Linked DNA regions of Homo sapiens: region 1 is linked to region 2. The links are contacts of gene promoters, found by promoter capture Hi-C in blood cells and fetal thymus (Javierre and others, 2016). All regions are on one chromosome and are shown on one strand. The core of a region is centred on a gene start or on the middle of the fragment in contact, and the rest is flanking DNA. Distances in the headings are between cores, read along the strand shown. Region 1 overlaps LINC02762 (long intergenic non-protein coding RNA 2762). Region 2 holds the start of ANKK1 (ankyrin repeat and kinase domain containing 1).

Region 1 (5,944 bases), core at 1,492-3,991, 1.1 Mb after region 2:
ACTGAGATTTGGGTTGATTTGTAAAATTGCTCAAAGTCTTGAAGTTTTACATGAAAGGCAGTGTCAAGAACAAAATCTGAACTTCTGACCCCTAGGCCAGTGCTCTCCCTACATTGCTAACTTCAGCGGAATGCCATTGCATGTATCTATGAAAAACCTATTTCCATTTCTACCTGCATAGAAAAAAGTAACGGTGGCAGAAGGGCCACATCCACTTTGACTGGTCCCACTTTGGAACTGAAGGAAGACTTTGGTTTCCAAATAATGTCTCTGCTAGAAAGGAAGTTTGCAAAATGTGGATCTCTCATTAAAGAGTCTTTCTGATTAGAGGGGAGTGGGAACAAGGCCAAGGAAAATGTAATGGGAGTCAGCCGGAGATGCAGGTGTGCGGTCTTATAAATTACTCAACAGTTCTTCACGAGAGCCCCCCAAGACCCCACAGCACAGTGGGAAGACGAGTGCTCCACTCTGCCCAAGGAACACATGGCCAGGAACTCCTGCTCCCCTTAGGATTGGGTCTAGGGGGTTTGATTCCAAAAGCCAAGGGTGGCAGGGACTTGCCGAGTTCAAAATAAGCCCCTTTCTCTGACAACTGCCAGTAGTCATGCTTGTACCATCTCATACACAGACACACATCCATATCGACTGGACTAGGGTGGTCACGTGACCCAAGCCCATCCAGTTCTCTCTCTCCCTGGGAGTCTGAAATTAGGACTTAGAGGCATCCAGTCAATCTGAGCTGGTTACTTGGATAAACAAGAGGAAAACTCAGGAGCTATGGGGCATCCATTTTATGCCATGCACGTGAGGAGCAAAGTCACATGTACACCCTGAACAGGACTTTGTTTGCAATTAATGTTTCTTTTACAGGGATGCAGAGGAAGAGAATGAACAAGGACTATGGGCTCCTAACAGCTTCAGAGCTCCCAGTCCCACCTCTTAAAAGGCCCAATTGTCCTGGGATCTTGTAAGATATCCCAGTATCACAATGTACTCTTTCCCCTTCCCGCACCCCGCTACCCCACAACTGGCTGTAGTTGGTTTCTATTATTAACAACCAAAGAACCGTGAATGAGACCCTAGGTAAAAGAAATTACCCACCATCTGATGACTGCTTGGCATGGCTACAAGCTACCAAAAAAGGTCTCACTCACCCTGCCTCCTCCAAAGGTGCAGGCAGCAATGAGATGTAGAAAAGCATTGGAAGGCAACCTTGGAGGCCGCGGACACTTCATAAGTGGTTTAAGGCAAGCAGAACATGACGAATAAATAAACTGAACTCATTCCCAGACCTAATTTTTTTAAGTAAAATAAAATCAGGTCCACTTAGAGTTTAAAATGGCATTTGGCTAGAAGTTCCTGACAAAGTGTCTCCAAACTTCTCCCTAAATTATTTATTACACAGAAAAATGACAAAAACTCACAACAATAATGAAAATGAAGACTAACAACCTGTTACCAGAATCTAGAAGGAATCTCTACTAACTAAATAAAGCTGCTAAAGCTGAGCTGCATTGAGACAAACAGTCCATGCTTCGCCTTAGAAAACAGAACAGCACATTGTCTCGAAAGATGATAGACATTTTCTTTCTCTCCTACTGTCTACCCCCAGTTCAGAGACCCAGGACCAAGCCAAATGAAAACCTGGCTCTCTATTATGACTGCTACTCTTTGGAGGAGCCGGAGAACTATTCCCTCTCCCTCTATCTACATCCATTCATAGAATGCAATTACTGGGAAACCACAGAGTAGGAAGGGGAAGAGGATTAGCAATGGCACGTCATGTTTTGGAAGGCATTTTTTCCACACAGCATGCCTTATAGGAAGCACAAAGGTAGTTTGTGCTGGAGAGTAAGATTTTCACATCCCCCATCAGTTCTGTTTGTTAGAGAATAGGCAGAAGAGGAAGGGAGAGATCCCATGCCAGTTCAGCAGGGCCGCACAAGATGAATGCCCTTCAATTCTGGGGAGCTGTGCACCACAACTGACCTTCAGCTACAGACCTAGGAATAAGGCAGTGAGCAAAGCCAAGGACAATCTGCACAGTCTACACTTCCTCTTTTAGCAAGCAAGCACCAAGGCTCCATGGAGCTCTACTTGCTTAAAGGTAAACAATGTGCCAGGCTGGAATTGGGGATATAGGGGAGGGAACCCTCAGGAGGCCTATGGAAAAACAGCATTCACCATAAGAGAATAAGGGAAACAGAGCCTCACCCAGAAGACTAAGAAAAAGAGCACACTTCTGAAGATAACTTACTATAGAAACCAGAAGAAAATGTTTTAAAACTGGCATTTATAATATAAAAACATAATATGGCCCTATGAAATTGAAACTGAAAAACATATATATACACATACATATATATATACACACACACAAATACATATAGATATATAGATACAGAAAACAAGCTGAGTTAAACTGATATCAGGATAAGCTTCAAAGACTGGCATGTGAGATGACATTTTAGGTTCTTACAAAAGTGTGATGGGGGGCCGGCTCCCTTGTTTATGTTAGACCTAATTGTGATTCTTTTAAAATAAACAGTGAAGCAAAACTTTTAGGATATCAAGAGAAAGCAGTTAGCTAGAAGAGTGGAGTTTTAAAAAATATGTCATCTAAAACAATATTAAACAATATTCAGATATGATCCACTCAGACTTCAGCCCCTTACTACTTGTAAGTGTTCTTCCCTCTGCAAACGTCCGAGCAAATCAGACCAGCACACACCCACTGGAGAAGAATGGCATTCTAAAGCTGCTTCTTTTTTTTGGCAGAAATGATGGGACTGTTAAAATTCAGTAATGATTTTATTACCTCATTTGAGATCATTTCATTGTCCAAGTTATTCTCTTTTTTCAGTAGCAACAGCAAATTTGGTAAGAAAGCAAAATCCAGCAGTTCTCATACAAATATTGCAAGAATTTTGTTAAAATATTTTAGGGTACATAGTGATTTCAGAATATGTATTATTATAGTACCTTTAGCTGCTGTACAAATACGTCCAATGTTTGTATCTTGGCTGAAGTACAATAAAAGCTTATCTGTCACTTACAAAAGAGCTCAAGGCAAATGTTCCCGGTTGGCAAGAGCAGCTGTCCACCCTGAGCACCCAGGCTAACAAAGTTTCTGCCACCTTCACCATGAGGCCCCAAGGTTGTCACTGTCCTCTCATGGCACTCAGCTGGAAGAGGGGAAAGAGAACAGAGGACAACTCATTAAAGGCTCTTATGGGGAAGTCCTATATGTCACACACATCACCTCCATTCACATTCTACTAACTAGAATACAGTCTCAGGGTAAATATTAGGGGCTTCAGGCTTATGAAAGAGAATTTGGCCAATGGAGTCCAAGAAAAGATATAAAGGAAACTGGTTGTAACAAGAGAAAGATATTCCCAAGAAAATTAAATTATTAAACAATAATTAAAAGTCATATAGGAAGGAGTAAATGAGTGAAATGGACATGGCAGAAAACTAAGGAATATCTTAGATGGCAAACTGGAGGAACACTTTCAGAATGCCAAGAAAGAGCACCAAGAATTAAAACTATTTCCTTAATTCTAAGATGTCTGTGTTGCCACATCATCACTTCTGAAATCAGGCCAAGTCTTGCAATCACTGGCATCTTATAATCACCCTGGGCCAGGGAGCTGCCATGGTGAGGTCATCAAGACCTGGGCATGGGTGAACTTGGTCTCAGTTGTTCATGTTGTTAGCACTTTAATTGAGTTGTATACATTGTTGCAATTACATGTGAGTTTAATTGCCATTTAAAATGTCTTTTAAAAGATTACACTATGGTTTGGCATTGAAATGAGAAGTTATTATGTATGCAGAAAGGCATGGAATTCAAGCAGCAGGATGTAATTTGATATTACTGAAGCAAATGTCTATTATTGGACCAACCACTGCAATTCTTTTTTTTTTTTTAAACTAAGTGCTTGACAGGACCCAAGAAAAGAAGGTATCCTTAAGTAGAAACTGTGTTATGTTTTGTAACTGAGACTCATGCAAAAAGAATTGCCTGTCACATGCCAAACAATGCAACCAAAGGCAGGAGCAACTGCCAAGTCCCTCAAAATAGATGAAGTCTATCAAAATAAGAGAGAGAATGGTGTGAGCAACTTACCAATTTCACAGGACTGTAATCATGGCATTATGTCACAGTTTAATTGGCAGCATTTTTTCTTCCTTAGTTGTACATATAATAATAGTGCTTCTTACAACAAATACTAGCTTAGATTCAATAAAATACAGTACTTTAAAAAGAAGACGATAGCTATGGAAGACCAGGAATAGAGATTGAGCCTAAGAGTTATGTTTCTGAAGAAGAATCTAGAACAATCAAAAGAGAAACAATAATTGAAGATATAATTAAAGAAAACTTTCCAAAAAAGTACAGAAAGGGCAAACAGAGGAATGGACTCAGTTCACCAGGTTCCAGGTAAAAGTAACCAAGAAACACTCAAATCCAGAAATATCCTGACAAGTTTTTAAATTACAAGCAAATTTTTAAGTGTTTTCTTTGTACATTCAGAAACAAAAGAAAAAGGAAGGAAGGAAGGAAGGAAGGAAGGAAGGAAGGAAGGAAGGAAAGAAGGAAGGAAGGAAGGAGGGCAAGAAGGGGAAGGGGAAGAGAAGGGAGGGAGGGAGGGATGAAAATTGTGCTGACTTTTTTGTGTCTACTACAATGGAGCAGTAGCTGACAGAGTTTTTATATGGAAAACACTTAGATGAAAATTTTACTCACAAATAAGTTTTAGTTTTTGAGGACAGACAACCAAAAGAGTTCAGAATGTCTGCCACTCACATATTCTTTAAATCACTTTAAAATATATTTCAACTGCCCAAGTGATGACTTAAAATTACTCAAGAATGGAAAAAAACAGAGCGTCAAAGGACTAGCAGTGAGTGTTGAAGCCAATTACACACAGAGAGTTGGTCTAAAACAATTGTTTAACTATGGTTACAAGACAGAATATGTGTCAAAAATACCCAAGAACCAAGAGACATACAACATCAAAAAATAATGCATGAATAATCCGATCCCAAGTCCACAAACTAATAAACTTTCAAATAGGAAAGGAGAACAGAGGGAAATAAAAGTGTACAGAATTCATCCTACACAGTTGCGAGCTTAAAAATACCATTTTATTCTTGACTTTAACAACCAGAGAAATATTGATTGGTGCTCACATCCATTTTTAGAAACTCATTACGTAGGAGAGTAGGGGCCTGTCCTTTAAAAGATAAAAACCTCACTCCTGCCTCAAGGTATTTACAGTTTGAAGATCTCTAACCAACACACAGGATAGGTTTTAATTTGTTACAAGAATAAACAAATGTCAAAGTCCTTGAAGAATTTAAGGTTTTGTGCAGAACCAGTCCTCAGATGCTGTTTCAATCTTACTGCCCACCAGCATTTTCCATTCCTTCTGGTAAAGCCTCCTAAAACCTGGTATGAAAGGACAGCAGTTCCTGGTCACTGTGGTGCCCTCTGTACCTGACGGCAGGGTCTGCTTGATGTCAGCGTGCGTTGTCACAATCCATGAACCGGATTGTCCTTGTTTAACAGCATCACTGGTGTCACTGAGAATGAGACACACAAATTCGGATTGCAGGGAAGCTCTCACGGTAACCATTACACACACAGCACTGAGACCTGAAATCAGTACACAAATACCAGATATTTTCCCTCCAGAATTTAATTTAATGCTCACAATCACCATCCAAGTAGGCAGCATTTTTCCCATTTTACAGATGAGAAAACTGAAGTTTAGAAAGGGTGTTTTCCAGAATTACAGAGCCAGTCAACAGATGGCAGAGAGGGGTCTCCAAGCCAGGAATTTCTGGCTCAAAAGTTCACTGTACCTTACCACACCATTTTCTTAATTCAAAGAAAGAAGGTACAAGGAACAGAAATGGATATAATAATTTTATA
Region 2 (5,241 bases), core at 693-3,192:
GGAAAACTTTCTCCTCCTCACCTACTTAACTTATACTCATTCTTCACATTTCAGCTGTAGTGTAACTTCTTCAAGGAAGCCTTTTCTGATATCAGTCAAACTTTCTGTTAATGAGCTCTCCTAGAGCCACAAATCTCCCCTTCTTAAGCTTCTCACAGTAGCACATTTACATTTACATGTGGGGTTATCTGGTTAATGTCTTCCTCCCCCTAGGCTGCAATCTCCCGGAGAGAAAGGACACATCTGTTGCATTCATCGTTAATCCCAGGGTGTAGAACAGTGCCTGACACATAGTAGAAGAGCAGTAAGCATTTGTCAAGTGGATGAATGAATGAATAGCTGGAAAGAGGATCTAGTAAAGTAATGCACGTAAAGCTCCTAGTATAGTAATCCATACATACTAAGTCTTAATTACCATTAATTATCTTACCCCCTCCACCCAGGGAATTCCCAGAACTTGGGAAGGGAAAGTGGCAGGAGTTAGCATCAATGTCTCACAGTGTAATCATGTCACTGCCATCTGTTTCCTTTCGTTCTATATTCAAAAGGCTATAAATGATTTAGACAAATCCTAGCATACTCTGACCCTCCTCCAAAACCAACAGGCAGATGTTGAGGGAGGAAGGTGAGTGGGCCTTAGGCGATCTTATTTTTCCTCTCCTCATAAGGTGGGGGAAGGCCTGGGAACTGAGTGTGTGGCACCTGAGGCTGTATCTTAAGAGTTTGCATGGTAATCCTAGAGAACCACAGATAGCATCCAAGCCAGATGCCAGTCAGAGAGACCCCCGTCCCGGACTCTCTAATTGATGTCCCAGAGCCTTGGGAGGAGGACATGGTTATCATGCTCAGGTTTAACATCCCGAGTGTCTTCTTCATGGCTGCAAGGTGCAAGCACACAGCTAGTATATGCAACTCCAGTGGGAATGAGACTGGATTCCAAATCAGTGGGAAGACAGAGAATAATGGAAACGTAGGAAAGAGGTAGGAAGAGAAAAATAGGGGCATGTCAAGGCGTCGCTGTAGTGCGCATGACAGCAAGGGACAAAAACAAAAACAGAGATGAGAGAACTCCAGACTTGACCCTCCAAGGGCCTGGACAGGCCATCAGGCCGGGCAGTCTCCATCCCCTGACCTCCTCAGCCTGCACTGATTGGGAGGGGCCTCCTCCCTCCCGCCACCGTGGGAAGAGAGAACATGATTCCCTGCAGATCTGAGCAAAGTGCCACAGCCTCCCAGGATGCTCAGCCCTGCCCTGAGAGCTGGGGTGGGTAGGAGGATGGCAGAGAGCGGTCAAGAGCAGTTATTGCCACAGGACACCGGGGGAAGAAGGCGCTGGAGAGAAGGATGGAAGCAGGCAGGACAAGTTCGGAAGGTCAGATGGGATAAAGGCGTCTTTGGTAGGTAGTTCCCGCTTGCCTTTGACCTCTGTTGAGTCTACAAACAGGTATTATGTGCCAACTCTATTTTGGTTAGGGAGACAGGTATGGGTGTGCCTGGGAGGCTCAGGCTACTGGGTGGAATTCAGAAATACCGCGGGGGACAGTCCTCAGCCCCAAACTCAGCCCACTCCTTCCTCGCAAGCTCCCTGGGCCCAAAGCTTGCCGGGCCTCAGTTTCTCCTCCGAGAAAGGGGAGGGCGAGGCTGGCAGTACCTGGCGGCGTCGGGTGGAAGGCAGGGGGCGCACTTGATGGCGTACTCCGTCCGCCAGCGCCTGTGCCGCGCCTGGAACACCTGGCTGAAGCCGCCGCTGGCCACTAGGCGCCAGTCGCCCTCGAAGTCGTCGCGGGTGAAGACGGGGAGGCTGCCCAGCCGCAGCTCGGTGGGGTCGGCAGCCATTGCCCCTCTCTTCCTGTCCCCGCGCCGCGCACTCCCCGCTGTGGCTGCTGCCTGGGTGGCCGAAGGAGCCGCCGCTTCCTGCTCCTCGGGTCCGGGAGAGGGGAATGGGGAGACGAGCCGGCCCTGCCTCCTTCCCCGCCCAAGAGGAGCCGCTCCTGCCCCGCAAAGGTGGGGAAATCCCAGACATGAGCCCTGAGGCCCCAGCAGGGATGGAGCGACCTGGGCCTGGGGAAGAGGGTATGTCCCTCCGAAGCCCTCGCATTTCCCCTGTCTCAGCCTTTGATTTTCCCCAGTTCCCCCTAGGGAGGGATGCTGGGAGAAGGTGTCCCGAAGCTGGAAGAAGTCCAGCCTGAGAAGTTGGATCCAGTTTATTTAGGCCCAGCGCTAAGTGAAATCGGTTTATGCATTCCTTCAGTGCATTCAAGGTTTTATGGTTTATGAAGGATTCAGGCCTGGACCCCTGCCCCTATCCAGCAAGTATGGGGCTCAAACAATTTTAATGGGGATTTTCTGGTCTGAATCTGTTGGTCTGACTGGTTTCATGTTTCCTTTGTTCTTGTTGGGGTTTTGTTTGTTTGTTTGTTAGCCAGCCTTGGTGTGCTATAGGTTACCAAGGAGGGGTCAGCAGGGACAGAGTTGCGGGGGAGGCTGGGCTCCTGTCTGCAGGGGACTCCCTTCCTGGGCTGCGCTCTATCCAACCTCAGAGGGATGGACCCCAGCCTCGGGGTGGCCACGGGGGAGGTGGCCTCCTTGGCGCAGTTACTAGGGGCAGTTTGTTGCCAGGGATGAGAGGAGGCTCTAGCTGGAGCCTGACCAGTGCTGAGCTTGGAGGTTCCCCTGGGTCCTGGGTCCATGGGATTGCCCTCTCACCTTGGAGACCCTCAGAGCAGGGAAAATGACAAGTGCTTGAACAGACAGGTCTCCCCAGGGGCACTGACCAAGTGGGCCATTGCCCAGAGACAGGCATACCTGGAGGAACTGTGGCCACGGAGTGCAGAGTCAGCCACTATTTGCCTACAGCTGAGTAAGTCCACAAGGAGCCCTCAGAGTGATCACTGTTAGGTTTGAGGAGCCTACCTACCAGACAAGGAAGTGCCTTGCCTTCAGCCCAAACCTGCAGAGCCCCTCGTCCATGCCACAAGCCCACCAGACTCCCAGGGAACAGTGTAGGCATGATAGGCAAACAGAGACTCCCTGTGGAAGCTGGAGAACTTGCTCCCTCTGTAACAACTTACCTGCAACTTCCAGGATGAATTCTGGCAAGCAGATTAAGGATCAAAGATTGGGCCTGGAGACAGTTGTCATAGAAACTAGTGATAGCCACTACTAATTGAACACTCACTTTGTTCCAGGATCAGTGACTATTTCAGTTACTGCATTGCTTTACATATATTATCCTGTTTATCTTGCAACAATGTTATGAGGTCAACATCTTCTATTCACAGATGAGGAAACTGGCTTCAAGACAATAAGTAATCAATGGACACATAGCTAGTAAGTGGTAGTTGATATTCAAACTCAAGTCTCTTAGTTTCTATGGAAATGGTTGGCCAGGGGAGGATCAGGGAGTAGCCTTTTATGAATACAAAAAAGGAAGAGAGAGAGTCATGCTCCCTGGAAGAGGGTGGAGATGATGGAAACTGCATCAGGAGCAGGACGTATCCCCCAAACATATGTCAGAGGGAGGCCCCCAGCTTGCTTTGGCTGGAGCAAGACAGGGCATAACAGAACCCATTGTCTCTGGAGTAGCCCTGCCTGCCCAAGTTTAAAGCCTCTGCCAGAGAAGTTTGGAAGGTGATAAAGGACATTGTCATCAGGGAGACCAGGAGGTCAAGAGGATGTTTCATACCTTCTACTGGGAGGGTGAACATGGAGACTGGGAAGGTGACCAGCCACCCAGCTCTGCGGAAGTTTGACTGAGGCCCGATCTTTGACATTCAGCGAGACCTATCTCAGCTCCTGGAGGAAATACCAAGGGTGAATGGCCTGAGTCATTTCAGCAGTTCCCCTTGATCCACTTATACCTGAAGTGGCTCTCCAGGGAGAGGAAGTAACCAGAAGCTGCCATTGTCTGCCTGCAGAGACTGTCACAGGAATACTGAAGAAAGCATCATTCCTAGAAGAGGGGACACCCAGGGCTCAAGGCATGTTGCCAGAATCCCGAACAAAATACCTCTGAATTTCTCACAGGGGTGGAGGTGGAGGAACTGCAGGGTCAGGGCGTATTACTGCTGACCCACCTGTTGAAACTCTCTGCTGTGGGTTCAAGCACCCCTGAGGCTTCTGAGGAGTCAGTCAAAATAGATACATTCATTGACCCAGAGGGACTGGATCATTTGACTGGGCTTGTCCTGCTCCTTACAGCTGTCTAACATGGGCTAGGGCAAAGGCCTAGTAGTCTTTGGATAAGCTCTGGGAGAAGTTGTAAGTGGAGGGACCCTTTCTGAGTATAAGGTCACAGAGGCAAAGAACTCCTGGATCTCTCATTAAAAGTGGGGTGAGGTATAGGGATTTGCAAAAGAGTAAAGTCAACTCAGAGGCTGCTGGTTTCTTTCCAGTGGTCTGAGTGCAGAAGTCCCTAGGTCCTGGCTGGTTGGGAAGTCAGCAGCCAGTGTGTGGAGGGGAGAGAGCTGGGGGGTTGGGAGGGAAACTCTACCTTTACCCATATCTACCTACAAATGGGAATGGATAATGAAGTGGTTATAGTCCAATTATGACCCCCACCCACCAGAAGGGGCAAGGAACAGGTTCTAGCTATAGAAGTTTTACCCCAAAATGCTCTGAGTCCTTCCAACTAACCTCTATCAGTGCATTTTGTTTGGGCAGATTGAAGATGGAAGTGTTCTGGATTTGGAGTTATTAAATGAATTTTGTGTGTATGTGTGATTGTCTTTGGGGAACCTAAGATTTTTAGCCTGCTCCTCCCAGACAAGTGAGCTGGTACAGGAGCTCTGCAATACTTTAGAAGATGCTGAAATCTGATGTGAGCCTTTCCCCAAACCGGAATGACAAGCTATTTGCATATAGGGAAGTTTCCCAGTCTGCCCCTGTTCTCCACCCTGCAAACATGTCACGGAGAACCCTGGACAGGTTCTGGCAGGCCCCAGCCTCTGGTAGCTTGTGTACTGAGGTTGGTCAGGATAAAGGAATGTATGCAGGAAAGTGGAACATCTGTTCAGGAAGCAGGACTCCCAGAGTGAAAGGGATTGAATGAGGCAATAGGAACAGGGTTTAAATGTGGGAGTGAGTCAGTCAGTCAGACCCGCATTTAAACCCTGGCTTCTTTCTATCACTTAGCATTTGTTTAACCTTGGTCACATTATCAAATCTTTCTGGGTTTCTCCATCTGTAAAATAGATGATAATCATAATAACCATTCCAAAACATTGCTATAAGAATTATAAC

What was found. Contacts are between HindIII fragments. The CHiCAGO score rates a contact against its expected background, and 5 or more counts as called.
Region 1: a contact is called between a fragment that was not itself captured here and the fragment with the promoter of ANKK1 in region 2, in 1 of 17 cell types (naive B cells). The highest score is 5.0, in naive B cells.

What each region holds. Positions count from the first base shown.
Region 1 is chr11:112,290,968-112,296,911 of GRCh38, reverse strand. LINC02762 (long intergenic non-protein coding RNA 2762) reads right to left here. Exons shown (of 4, transcript NR_126004.1): 2 at 2,983-3,185. Among named protein-coding and RNA genes, the nearest start is that of LINC02762, 23 kb to the right of the region's middle. The HindIII fragment of the contact is 602 bases long and covers 2,441-3,042 here.
Region 2 is chr11:113,384,480-113,389,720 of GRCh38, reverse strand. ANKK1 (ankyrin repeat and kinase domain containing 1) reads right to left here and starts at 1,942. Exons shown (of 8, transcript NM_178510.2): 1 at 1,652-1,942. The coding sequence starts at 1,836. The HindIII fragment of the contact is 6,156 bases long and covers 1,600-5,241 here.